Linked DNA regions of Homo sapiens: region 2 is linked to region 1. The links are contacts of gene promoters, found by promoter capture Hi-C in blood cells and fetal thymus (Javierre and others, 2016). All regions are on one chromosome and are shown on one strand. Each heading gives the region's core, a stretch centred on a gene start or on the middle of the fragment in contact. The rest is flanking DNA. Distances are from core to core; before and after follow the strand shown. Region 1 holds the start of TUBGCP3 (tubulin gamma complex component 3). Region 2 overlaps ATP11A (ATPase phospholipid transporting 11A).

Region 1 (6,820 bases), core at 1,310-3,809:
CATACTAACTGGATTATTTGTGCAGTGAAATGAGTGCCTCTGTTGCTATAAAGTTCTTGAGGAACTCCCCAAATCGGAATAATTTTCTCTAAGATAATTTTACTTACCGCCAAGGCTGCTGCTCTTCTGCATGGAAATGCTTCTACCCATGAGAAAATACACAAACCATCACTAGGATGTGCCTGTATCTTTGTGATGGTGGTAGCTGAAAAAATCTAGTTGCCATACCTCGAAAGGGCCTTCTGGTAAAGGAAAATGACATGGAGAACTGGGTCAAGGTTTCCTTGCATTATATTCTGGGAAGACAGCCCTGACTGTATACCCGTGAGCAACAGTTGGAGAAGGTTTCCGACAACATTGTTCTCCTCAAGAAATCAATAATCTTATCAGGGCTCCAGTGAGTCACATCGTGTATGCACGTTAAGAAAGATGGCTGGACCGGGCGCGGTGGCTCACGCCTGTAATCCCAGCACTTTGGGAGGCCGAGGCGGGCACATCACGAGGTCAGGAGATCGAGACCATTCTGGCTAACAGAGTGTAACCCCGTCTCTACTAAAAATACAAAAAATTAGCCCGGCATGGTGGCGGGTGCCTGTAGTCCCAGCTAGTCAAGAGGCTGAGGCAGGAGAATTGCGTGAACCCAGGAGGTGGAGTTCACGCCATTGCACTCCAGCCTGGGCAACAGAGCGAGACTCCATCTGAAAAAGAAAAAAAAAAAAAGAAAGATGGTTGTAACTTAGTTGGAAGTATGAGTAGAACATTTGGTCAAACCGTACATCAGTCTCAGAAGCGCATGTGCCACTTTTGTTTCCCAATTTTCTCGTCCTGTTTTTGGAGATTTAGATTGAGCTAATTTTACATAAAAATCTAACTTCCTTAAAGGCCAAAATGGTTTGATCTTTTTGTTCAGATATGTTTATGGCCACCCTGTTTGCTATACTACCTGCTAACTGGCTTATCTTGCTTTTTTGAGTGTCTTTGAATGGCCTGGAATCTTGATAATGGCTAATGATTTTGGCAATAGTATGGCTTGCCATAATTCTGAAACAAGGCACCCATTTTTTTGTGGGCTGACTAGAAAAGGTTAAAAATCCTTTGTCTCCATAGCATTCCAAAGTTATGAGCTACTCTATAAGCATACCTGCTATTGGTATAAAGATTAGCAGTTATTCCTTTTGCCAACTGACAGGCTCTAATTAATGCTATTAACTTTGCTTGTTGAGATGATTGCTCCTGGAAGACAAGCACTTTCTATTTCTTTGGGCAAAGACGCTATGGCATAACCAGTGTAATACCTTCCAGCTGCATCTTTAAGTAAGAGCCATCTGTAAACCAAATAACATCAGCGTTAGTGAGGGGGGTTCTTGCATGTCTGTCCTAGGAGAGAGCTGGTCAGGTAAGATGATGCAGTCATGCAGCGTTTCAGCTGAAGGTGGGGGAGAGGGTGGCAGGATTTAGATGACATCTGGACATTGTAGTATGCGGCTGAGAGAATAACTTCATGAGAAGCCAGTTACTAACTGATCGTGTTGAGTGTGATGCAAGTTTAGAAGCGTTTCCACAGAATGCGTATCGAAGGCAGTGAGGGGTGATCGCATCCTTGGTGGTTTGGTTGCTCTTGCAGAGCTGTGATGGTTGTTGCATCATGCAAGGAGACAGTCCTTTAGCTGTAGGGTCTAGTTGTTGACTGTAATACCCTACAAGTCTGCTTTGTCTCCATGTTTTTGAGTCAGAACGACAACAAACGTTTTACTTGCCAACAATTCTGCAACCTGAGCTGGACCCAGGCCCGACGGGCTTTGCAGACAGTCACGTGTGTGGCTGGCCTCAGCTGGGATGTTGGGATAGCTGGGTTGTCCTCCCTCTTCCATTTCATAGGATCTCGGGATCTCTTTCCATCATTTTTCCTTAGGAAGTTGGCCTTTTAACATGGTAGCTCACGGCTCCCAAGCGTGCACCCATGTGTAAGCTTTAACGATTGCACTGAAGTTGGCTTGGTGTAATTGTCTGCTTATCGATCTTTTTCTCGGCAGGTTTCCTGTTCTCTCACTCCGTACGTGATTAATTTATTTTCCCAGGACGTCCCAGTTACCCGGGCCGGGGGGGACCGGCCCGCGCGGCAGTGCGAGGTCGGGCCTGAGCAGGGCGCCTGTTGGATAGCGTAGCAGGTGAACTGCCCACTGCACGTTAACAATCGTAACACCCTGCACCCTTTAAACAGGCTTCTTTTTTCTTTTCTTTTTTAAACAGGCTTCTTTCATCAGAAGTGTGAATCAAACCAATGCCGTTAACACACACACCCCCACACCCACACACCAAATTATGGCCTTTATGGTGCTACCGGCCACCAAGTGCCCTCCAAGCAAGCCCGTCACGCTCGCGACTCCGGGGCCGCTCTGTCCGCGCAGCTCGAGGGCCTCGGGCCACCTGTCGCCCGGAACTTTCTCGGCCGACCGGGCAGCAGCAGGGGGAATGCACCAGACAGGGCCGGGAACGCTTAGGCAGCCGCACGCGCGGCCGCGGCGCAGGGAAGAAGCGGGGCATTGTGGGAAGCGCCCGCGCTTTCGGCGGGTTCCGTTAAAATGGCGCCCTGGTGGCCGGCGGCGCCCGCGCCTTAGCCTGTCAGGAGCAGGGAGCTTGCGGGGCGCAGGAAGGGCGCGGGCCGCGGTCCCTGCGCGTGCGGCGGCAGTGGCGGCTCTGCCCGGACCACCGTGCACGGCTCCGGGCGAGGATGGCGACCCCGGACCAGAAGTCGCCGAACGTTCTGCTGCAGAACCTGTGCTGCAGGATCCTGGGCAGGAGCGAAGGTAGAGTGGCCGGGCGACGCGAAGCCCGCAGACCCGTCCCGGGGGCTGCTCCCTGCGCGTGCAGCCCTAATACGTTCCGGGGCTGGAGGAACGAGGATGCAGGGCCGGGCAGAGGGCTGGGGGACGGGCCGAGGACGTGGGGCCCGGACGAGGGAGCGGAGGGCTGGGGTTCGAGGGTCAGGGAGCCGGGGAGGACAGCGGAGGGCTGGGGGCCAGGACCGGGGCGGAGGGAGTGGAGAGGCCAAGGCCGGGGCGAGAACGCCGGGGCGGGAGGCGGGAGGGCGGAGCCGAGCCGGAGCGGGCTGAGTCACCGCTCACTCCGCTCGCGGGTCCGTCAGTGAGGACGGGAGGAATGCCAGCTCGCCAATTTATCCCCCTTCTCTGGTGTCACGCGCCGTGGGAGGGCGCCTCTGCGCGCCTTTGGGTTCATCCTGTGGGGTGGAGAGAGCGGCTGCGCCGCGGAGGTGGATGCGGGGTGCTGGAGTGTCACATCATCGTCCCTTTTCGTTAGGAAAGTTTAACAGGCTTGAGTATTATGGGAAGAGGGTGTTAACGACTGTAACTGCCGTGTTTTCCTACTGTTTAAAGGGTTGAAGGTTGGATTTGATATAAAACTATTCTGGGAAAGTTCACATGGCGAATATTGTTACTAATAAGCAAAACTAATCCTATACGGTAGGTAAAACCATTTTGTAGTCGAGGTACTTTGAAAGAAATGGTACAGGATGCCATTTCTTGCTCCTTGTTTTGGCCAGGTTGGTGGGGCAGAGAGTGAGGATGCACCATGAGGGAATTTTCTGAGTAATGGAAGCAACTGAGTTACATCTTAAGCACCAAAATGTGGAAAAGAAGTTACTCAATTTTTGAAGGAAGACTTCAAAGTTACATTTAAAGTACTGAGAATGCATTTTGACCTTTCATGCTTCATGACAATTACTGTACATAATTCATTGGATGTTCTATGATAATCTTGGGGCAATCATGAATAATTTTGTGTCGCTATTAAATGAGTGACTTCACACAGTTCTTGCTGCATCTTGTAAAGTTTGATTCTATCACTTTATTTATCTAAGAAATCTTTGAGGACAACCCCGTCCTCAAAGTTCCCCCCGGGAACTGTGCTAAGTGCTGGTGATGCAGATGCACAAGTCATTCCTCCCACAGATCTGACAGACACTCTACTGGAAGAGACAGATGATAAACCAGCCATGTTAATTAGCAATAAGTACTGTGGCGAAAAAGTAGGGTAAAGGAATAGAGAGGGAAGAGGCAGGTGAGGGAAAGCCTCTGAGATATTTAAAGAGACCTGAATGGAGTAAGGGAGGGCCATTTGAACATCTGGGGAAGGTTCTGAGTAGAGAGAACCAGTGGAAAGGTCTTGAGGTATGAGCATGGCCTGCCATCGTTTGTTTTTGTCATTAGCAGACTGAGTTTCCTTTCACATGTTTCATGTTCCTCGTCATAGGGGGAATCAGATAAAACTAAGATTGTTAGGACTTACCCACCTTAATGTCAGTGTTTTCCTTATACCAGTGGTTCCAGAGTTTTTTTTTCTAGGGATAAACCACACATTCATACATTCCCATTGTTATAATTGGATTTTGAAATTCATTCATCATGAGCTAGAATGATATTTCTCAACCTAAGAACTTTTTTTTTTTTTTGAGACAGAGTCTCACTCTGGTCGCCCAGGCTGGAGTGCAGTGGTGTGATCTCGGCTCACTGCCAAGCTCTACCTTCCGGGTTCATGCCATTCTCCTGCCTCAGCCTCCCGAGTAGCTGGGACTACAGGCGCCCGCCACCACGCCTGGCTCATTTTTTGTATTTTTAGTAGAGACGGGGTTTCACTGTGTTAGCCAGGATGGTTTCGATCTCCTGACCTCGTGATGCACCCGCCTCGGCCTCCCGAAGTGCTGGGATTAGAGGTGTGAGCCACCGCGCCCAGCCAAAAACTTTTTTTTTTTTACATTGAAGATTCTTTGATATAAAAGTTTTGTCCCTTCTAAGAGACTGAAAAGCTTCTTTTCAGCAAAATTCTGTATCCTACTATCTTCCCATTTAGAACTGTGTCTAAAAGTGGGCTCTCAGATCCTGACAGGGTCCTCTCTGAATAAATAATTTATTTATTTATTTATTTGAGATGGAGTCTTGCTCTGTCACCTAGGCTGGAGTGCAGTGGCATGATCTGGGCTCACTGCAACCTCTGCCTCCTTCAAGTGATTCTCCTGCATCAGCCCCCCAAGTAGTTGGGATTACAGGTGTATGCCAGCACTCCTGGCTAATTTTTGTGTTTTTAGTAGAGATGGGGTTTCACCATGTGGCCAGGCTGGTCTCCAACTCCTGACCTCAAGTGATCTGCACCCCACCCCCCTGCCGCTTGGCCTCCCAAAGTGCTGGGATTACAGGCACGAGCCACTGCGCCCGGCCCTCTCTGAATAAATTATGTCATGAAGTCCATTAAAGGTGATGCTCTTTTTGCTATGTTCTAGATAGCTAGGATTGTCAAGCATTTATGATATAATTTTAAATTATGCTGCTATTTACTGAAGAATTTATAAATAGTAGCTTACCTTGTTCTTTCATTTGTTATACCTTAGTGAGCAAAGGAGCAATATTAATTACTACCTTTACAATATTTGGTGTTAAAAATTTGATTAGTGAGCATTTTATCTGGTAACTCCATAGAATATTTGATTAATTACCTTATTCTTTGATGACATATTACAATTGGCCTTATGCTTTTGTAATACATTTTTTTTAGTACTATGAAATCAAGGCATAATAGGTACTTGTTACTTTTAATGAGAATTTCATATGAATCACATTTTTATAAGGTATCTTTTAAAAAATTATACAGTTGACTTCAAGGGACCTTCAGAAGCAAAGCACCTACATATAATGGTGCTTGACAGTTTTACAAAGTTAGCATGACCATGATTTACCACCTTTTCCAACTTATAACATCTGTGAATTTGCTTGAAACACATACTGCCAGCCAGTCATAGTCAAATCCTGTCTCCATATCCCTGCCCCTCCTGGGAGCACATTTATTTATTATGTCTTTGCGTAATTATTCTTATCATTGGAAACAGTGTGCTTGATGTTAATGTTCAAATCTGTCAGAGGTAACACTTCTTTTCATAGCTACTTTGTAATCCTTTTTCTAACTATGAGGTAAAGAATACATAAAGAGGAATTTATATTAGATAAGTATTTCATCATAAATGTTCAGGTATGACTACAGTACACAGCATATTCGAAGATGATTGCCATAATATGCAAGACCTCTATGAGTGTCCTACAAGCCACTATCAGAAGATAAAGGATTATTGTTTTGGTGATTCAGTACCACAAGTGGTGTTGCTATTGGTTTCATGATTTTCCAAAATGGTAAAGAGCTTTTGATGAAGTTCCAAATACCATGTGATCTTCCTTTGGTTATATAATTACATTCTTGGGAAGATCAATGTGTATTACATGTATATTAAGATATACATTAGATGTGTATTAAAACTTCAGAGTTTCAGGCTTTGTTTCAAGTTGTACTTGATGGATTTACTATTTTTCAATAAGTTAAAATTTAAAAATTGTTTTGGCTTAAATTTCTAATATGGTAACTGTGGATAGATATAACCTACATAAACAAAAGCTTTTTGGAGTTCTCAATCGTAATAGTGTAAAGAAGCCCTGAGACCAAAGAGTTTGAGAACCACGCATCTAGAGTAATGTTTTTGTTGTTTTAGAGCATTGCTTTTCAACTAGAGCCATGCATTGGAATCGCCTGTGATTTCACAAGAACCTGATAACGTTGATTGCCTGTGGGAAGGGGAGCTGGTGGCCAGTGGTTGAGAACAGGACTTTTTATGGTATCTAACTTCATGCCTTTTCATTTTAAACTCTCTAAATGTGGGACTTACTCAGAATTAATATTGTGGGCTTCATCTCTAGGGCTTCTGATCCTGTAGGTGTCTGTTGGAGCTTGGCATCCGAAACATTAAAATGCGTGATAAGTT
Region 2 (6,820 bases), core at 3,017-5,516, 300 kb before region 1:
TGGGGTGGTGGCCTGCGCCGGGGCCCGCTGAGAAGCAGAGACAGACAGGACCCAGCCGTCCCACGAGGGCCCAGAAGCCGTCCACAGATCGGGAGGCAGATGAGGGTGTGTACGGAGACAGAGACAACAAATATAGCCACCTTTTGGGGAGAATTTTGCTGAAACAAGGAGGTGAGAAACAAGAGCTGAGCCGGGTTTCTGTTTGAGACTCTTCTGCTGCCCCGATGGCTTGGCCGGCAGAAAGACAGTGATGCCGCCACAGAGACGGTGAGAGGTCACCCGGCCGCCACAGCCCGCTCCTTCCCCCAGGGCGACGGTGAGGGGTCACCTGCCCGCCACGGCCTGCTCTTCTCTTTTAGAGTAACCACTGATGTCTTAAGAAGTCAGGAAGCCTTGTGAGATGAGTGAGATGCTGACTTTAGCCCCGTGTTGGTGCGTGCTGCCTCGGCTCATCCTCTGCGGGGCGGCTTGCCTGTTGCTGTGTGTCTGGCTCTGCCTTGCTCTGAGCAGGGTCCCCGGGTGGCTTCCTGGATGCCTTTGCGGGTTGGGGACGACCCGGACCCTCTCGGTCCATTGCAGTCACCCAGGTTGAGCCACTCAGAACCGATGGCAAGCGAGCTCCCCTGGTGTGTTCCAGGTTGTCATCCAAGGAGCAGCCATGGCCTCAAACACCCCTCCAACCCCACCCCACCGCCGCACAGGCCCGGATCCACCCCGCAGGCCGCGGCTGCTCCCAGGTGTGACTGCCCTGAAGCCGGATGAGGCATTTCCATGGCCCCCCAGAACGGAGTGTTGGGGGTTGAATTGTGTCTTCCAAAAAGAGATGTCGGAGTGCTAACTCCCAGTGCCTCAGAATGTGGCCTTGGTTGGAGATGGGGTCTTTACAGAGGCGACCGAGCTAAAAGGAGGTCAGTGGGGCGGGCCCTGACCCCAGCGCCGCATGGAGAGCGCCCAGAGGAGATGCAGGTGGAGGACAGGGTGGTGCTGCCACACCTGGGGAGACCCCGGGGTGTTGGTGCACAGACGAGCCTCCGCAGGGCGCTCACAGGAAGCACGCATGTCACCCACGCTTTTGAGATAGGCACATGGCTCTTCCTCTCCCAGCAAACAACTTTTAATTCCAACTTTTATTTCTTCTCCAGGCTCCATCCTCCTCCCTCTCTCTTGGCCCCAGGTGCTGCTGGAATGTCCCCTTTGCTGGGACACTGGAGGACACCTGAACAAACCAGCCTCCCTGTCAGAGCCTGGAGGCTGCCCCAAGCCAGCATCTGTGGCTCCACATGAGCTGAGAACCATTTTATGCCGGCCTCGCTCTCCCTCCAGCCCTTCTGGGCTTGGCTGGCCTTGCCCCGTCCCCTGAGCCCTCCCAGCAATCCTGTCCCAGGTGAGAGTATGAGGCTGGCATGGAACAGCCCTCAGTTGATGTGGGGGAGCAGCGGATGCCCTGGGCAGGCTGGTGGATGCCAGAACACCCTGAGGACACCTGAGGACACCCGGAGGACACCTGAGGATGCCCCGAGGACGCCCTGAGGACACCTCTCGAGACACCGGGAAGGGGCTCCTGTGGGTTCTGTCCCTGCGTCCCTCCCACACCTGGGCCCGTTCACTGGCAGGCCACACGCTATGCTGTTGTGGAAAGCAGTCGTCAGGACAGGCTGCACGAGGTGAGCGGGTTCACTGCGCGTGCAAAGGACCGGCAGCCTCCTCAGGACAGGGCCAGTCCTCGTCCACCTCAGGACCCGCCACTGAGCAAGTGCGCCACAGGCCACGTGGGCGGCTCTGGGAGCCCCAGCATCAGCGCGGGGCACGCAGCGCCACACGAGCCACGCCTTCCTCCATCCTCACCGCTGCAGGCACACAGACACTCCCATTCAGGTCCACAGGCGGCATCATCTGCTGTGGGGGCCTCGGGTGGCCTGTGTGGTTGATGATGTTTGCTAAACACCCACAGAGGCCCCCAGTGACCTAGCATCTGCAGTTAAGAAAAGATCTTTGGCACGGGACAGATGGGCCAGTGTGGAGGGCAAGCTTGCATCCCCCTCTGGCTTCCCCAGGAGGCCCTGATGGGCAGGGAGGGCCAGGCTTCCTCCTCCTTGGGCAGTGGGCAGGGTCACTGGGCATCTCGCTTTCAGGATTCATGTCTTCTGTCTGGAGAGCAGGGGGAGGTGAAGCGAGTTTGGGTCACTCATTAGGGCCAGGCCTTCCCACCCTAGTGCCGCCCCCTGGGACCAGCCTGCTCTGCCCCTCCCCTCTTCTCCCCATGACCCGCAAAATCACAGCATTATCTGTTTTCCTGCTACAAGAGGAAGAGACAGCTGTACGGAAGATGGCTTCAGGGTTACGAGCTGGAAAGGTAAAGGTAAGCCCACATGAAGATGCTGAGAATCCAGGGAACGAGAGGAAAGCATTTCGGAGAGAATCCAGGGCAGCTGTAGGTTCATTCACCCCACAGATGCCTTCGGAGCACTGCCTGTGAAAAGTACCCCCGACTTTGTGGCGTTCAGGAGCCAGAAAAAGTCCCATGTTTAGAATTCCAGCCTGCGAGCCAGGGGCCCTCTGTCCCCTCCCGGGGTGTTTCCCACGTGGCCCTGAGCTGAGACTCCATGGGAAGCAGGTGGCTGAGCAGGGAGAGGAGATGTAGCCAGGCGGGACTCAGGCACCAGCCACCAGGGATGCTCTAGGATCCACCCCAAGGCCCCTCTCCGGGTGCCCCAATGGAGCTGGGATCCCAGAAGTTGGGACCTGGTGGTGTTTTGAAGTTGGTGTTTCCAGACAAGACACAAAACTGCAGAGTATGACACGGCCGGGCTGGGTGGAACTCGAGAGAGGGTGAGGTCAGGGTTGGGACAAGGCCACGGCCTCCAAGGCCAGGGGGCATTCCGGGGGCTCCGTGGCAGCACCCAGAATTCTGCCAGGGCTGGGAGTGGCAGGGGGCAGGGAATGCCCTCTACTTCAGAGTGGGAAAGGCTGGGTTCAGCCAACAGAGCCCAGGAGGCTGAAGGGCCTGGAGGAGCCTGGGGTTTGGTCAAGAGGGAAAATTGGGATGGAAAGGGGGCACCTAGACCCCAAGCACGAGGTGGCAGGCAGGAGCTTGGCAGAGGTCAGGGAGGAGCTTGTGGTGGGGATGGACCAGAAGGTTGGGAAACCCAGTGGTGTTTCCGGTTCTGTGCAGGCACTGGCATCCAGGGCAGTCAGCACCAGGGCCCTGCACCTGGCACACCTGGTATCCCTGCAGGGGGTGGCAGCCGAGGGAACAGCCAGGGAGGGCCCACATCACCCACTGGGCTTGCCACCTCCATCCCGCACAGAAGCACGCTGCGAAGTGTTCTGACTGCACAGTTTCTCAGAGCAGAAAATGTACACACCACTTGTGTGAGTTTCTTTATAAAGAAACTGAAGCAGACTTTTATTCTTTATTGCAAGCAGATTCAGGTCTCCTGCTTAGATAATCTAGAGAAAAGTCCAATATAATATTATCCAGTCAGTTTATCTACAGAAATAAAAGTTAAAAACAGAAGCATACAAAATAAACTTTACTGAAATGTTAGATTGGTTTAATTAACAATTTAATTTTTCAAAGCTGATTAATGAATTATCAGTTAAATGTTACTGTGTGGAGACTGATTTATGTTAATGCACCTACTATGTTTAATAATTTAAAAATAAACTCCAGTATTTATGATGATGACAACTATGGATACCATTCATGTTAAATACATTTTTGAAGACCTTCTTTTATTACATTACATAATGAACAGACATTTTAAATGGTGACGCAGACATTATAATTTTAAGTCAGACACAATATATGCATATTAAAATTCTGTATACTTTGATAAAGTAAAAAATAAAGCTATATAAATTGATCTTTAGATTTTTCTGCAAAAGTAGAATCACACTTTCATGACACTTCTAACATATCCCATCAAGGCTGCTTATAGACACAACATCAGAAAGATTTTCATTCCAGTTCACCCACCTTTAGCTTAAAAAAAAAAAAGATTGCATTTGCCAACTGATATTTTTCCTGTTTTTAAAGTTACAAATGGGTAACTTCCTAAAGAAATGTAGGATGCAAGGACCTGCATATCAAGCTGTTAGACACTGAGTTGTCAAATAAATAATACTAACATTAAATAAGAGTGGTTGTATTATTCAGTACTAGTCAGTGCAAAACACATGAGCTGAGTGGTTTGAAGAACAAGGCTGGAGGTTTCCCGCGACAGCACCGGACCCCTGGCCAAGGCTCAACTCAGGGGAGTCCCCACAGCCTGTCTAAACATTTGTTTAAACGCTCAGCAAGCCGAGCGGATGGTCACCCTGTTGGAGACGCTGGCCGCATCTGGCCTCCTCCCTCGAGACGGTGTGGCCTGCTTGTTCGCCCTGTCTGCTCAGACACAGGCTGGGTTGACTGGGGCTTTAGGCGGCCGCGGCCCTTCCCAGCTGGCTCGTGGCGGAAGGCTGGCCGTGCTCCGACGCGTGCACGGATGAGGTGCGGCGTGGGTGTGGCCAGTCCTGCTGTGGCCGCCTGGTATAGGGCTGAGCCGAGGGGAGGTTTCAGCTTGCGAGGCTGGACCTCCCTAAAGGGGAAGGGCCTTGTCCAGGGCACCAAGCCTTGCTCACAGAGCAGCTGGTGTAAGTGAAGCTGCGACTTCACCCCCGGGGCCTGCTCTGCAAAGCCCAGACATTCTGCCAGGAGGGGGACTCTTCATCCCAGGGAGGCATGGGCTGGGGGCCAGGGAGCCCATCTTCCCATGCCCATCCAGAGGCCTCTCACAGGGGCCCCTCAGCAAGGAGGCAGGATGCAGTGCAGGACACCAGGACAGTGTGCACTTGTTTGTGGCACATGTGTGTATATGTGTGTGCATGTGTGTATTCACGCCTGCAGGAGCCTGCGCATGTGTTTGTGGTGCGTACATGTGCATGTGTACGTGTGGGAGCTCACGTGTGGGAGACGTGTGTTTACATGTCTGGGAGCTCGTTTGTGGTGTACACGTGTGTGCATGTGTGTAGGAGCCTGTGCGTGTTTGGGGTGTGTCCATGTGCATCTGTGTGTACGTGTGGGAGCTCACATGTGTACGATGTGTGCACGTGTGTTTACACGTCTGGGAACTCATTTGTGGTGTACACATGAATGTGCACGTGTGCAGGAGGCTGCACGTTTGTAGTGAATGTACGTGTGCGTGTGTGTGTGCATGTGTGCAGTAGAAGCTCATACGTCTCTCTGCTGTGCATACACGTGTGTGAGAGCAAGCCTGTAGGAGCTTGTACATGTGTGCTTACCTGTACATGCATGTGTGTATCACACGTCCGTGTGTAGGAACTTACGCTGTTCATGATATGTGCATATGTATTGTGTAGGAGCATGCACACGCGTGTCTGTGGTATGTGTACACGTGCATGTTCTGCATGTCTGTAGGTCACACATGCTTTGGTGCATGTACACGTGTGTGTGTGTATGCGTGTAGGAGCTCACACTTGTGTACACGTTTGTGTGCATGCATGTGTGCAGGAGCTTGCACGTTTGTGGTGGGTACATGTACATATGTGAGTGATCCTGTGTGCAAGCCCCCATGTGGACATGGCTATGAGTGAGCGTGGAGCCAAAAGCCAGGTAACACGCATGCAGCAGGCCCACTGTGCGTGTCTGAGACGGTCTGTGGCAGGGACTGGGTGTGAATCATGCAGCAGGCCCACTGTGCGTGTCTGAGACGGTCTGTGGCAGGGACTGGGTGTGAATCATGCAGCAGGCCCACTGTGCGTGTCTGAGACGGTCTGTGGCAGGGACTGGGTGTGAATCAGTGACCGTGTCTCTGACCAACATGCTGAATTACAAATTGATAATTTATTAACCTGTGCAGCAACAAATAAGATTTTTCAAAACTCAACAAAGTGCTCAAAGTTGACATTACTTGCTTCAAAGTTAGTTTAAGGCAAGTAAATACTAACTACTGCGAGGTGGAAAATTGCATGAAGACCCTGCAACGTCATTCACTGAGGATCTTCTCATCCTTTTCTTTTTTATCTCGTGCCCCTTGTCTATTTCAAATCATCAGGCACATTCATTTAATAATTTCCCAAGCAATTTTTAAAAAGACGTTTGGGAGTGTGTAAAAGTTTAGTGACTTTCACACTAAAACTTGTTGTCAGAGGTACATGGTGACTATCTCCACACAGGCAGAGCTGGGACCCAACTTACTAAACCTTCACGTGAGAATCTTCTATTTTTAAGGCTGAAGGATGGCAATTAACAATGAAACATAGAAAGCAGATGAAATTGCAACAAATTGTAAAGAAAAAGTGTAGCAAATTATCGTGCCTTAAATGTGCTGTTCAACTAATCACTGCCACCAGAAATACCAAGAAAAGAAGAGGTGTGTGTAGAGAATAAAATCAAATCTGAAAATTCGCATTCATCAGAGATTGGAACATTCAGTCAAAACTCTCACCAGAATCTAAATGTAAAGTGGCCAAAATTTCATAAACTTAAAAATGAAAGCTTTAAAAACCTATTTTTAAAATTAGACAGTATGTTAAATAAATGAATAAAAGAGATATAAACAGCTATGAAAATACTTCAGTGCAAAGGCAATTTTAAGATTTCTAAAAAAATACATTACAAATAATTTGTTAACTGAACATACAGAGAATCTGCCCCCGCTACAGGTGTTACATTTATGCCCATATTGGGTTCCTAAAAAGGGCTGTAAAAACGCACACACCATTGTTTGCGGGGGCAGCGTGGGCAGGGCTGCCAAGCCAGGGCGGCCACACAAGGACCTCAGGGCAGGGTGGCCCTGGGGACGCCTGCGGCTGGCCC

What was found. The method cuts DNA at HindIII sites, captures the fragments that hold promoters and counts their contacts. A CHiCAGO score of 5 or more calls a contact.
Region 2: a fragment that was not itself captured here is called in contact with the fragment with the promoter of TUBGCP3 in region 1 in 1 of 17 cell types (monocytes); the score reaches 5.9 in monocytes.

What each region holds. Positions count from the first base shown.
Region 1 is chr13:112,583,892-112,590,711 of GRCh38, reverse strand. TUBGCP3 (tubulin gamma complex component 3) reads left to right here and starts at 2,559. Exons shown (of 22, transcript NM_006322.6): 1 at 2,559-2,807. The coding sequence starts at 2,732. It overlaps LOC124903251 (a long non-coding RNA gene), which reads right to left and starts at 2,526. Exons shown (of 2, transcript XR_007063945.1): 1 at 1,296-2,526; 2 at 1-698. RefSeq lists an enhancer at 1,744-2,563 and silencers at 2,629-2,848, 2,879-2,938, 2,969-3,088. The HindIII fragment of the contact is 2,856 bases long and covers 1,972-4,827 here.
Region 2 is chr13:112,883,717-112,890,536 of GRCh38, reverse strand. It overlaps ATP11A (ATPase phospholipid transporting 11A), which reads right to left. Exons shown (of 30, transcript NM_015205.3): 30 at 3,369-6,820. Among named protein-coding and RNA genes, the nearest start is that of MCF2L-AS1, 82 kb to the left of the region's middle. RefSeq lists cis regulatory regions at 1,352, 4,957 and enhancers at 1,280-1,424, 3,883-4,458, 4,885-5,029. The HindIII fragment of the contact is 4,471 bases long and covers 2,031-6,501 here.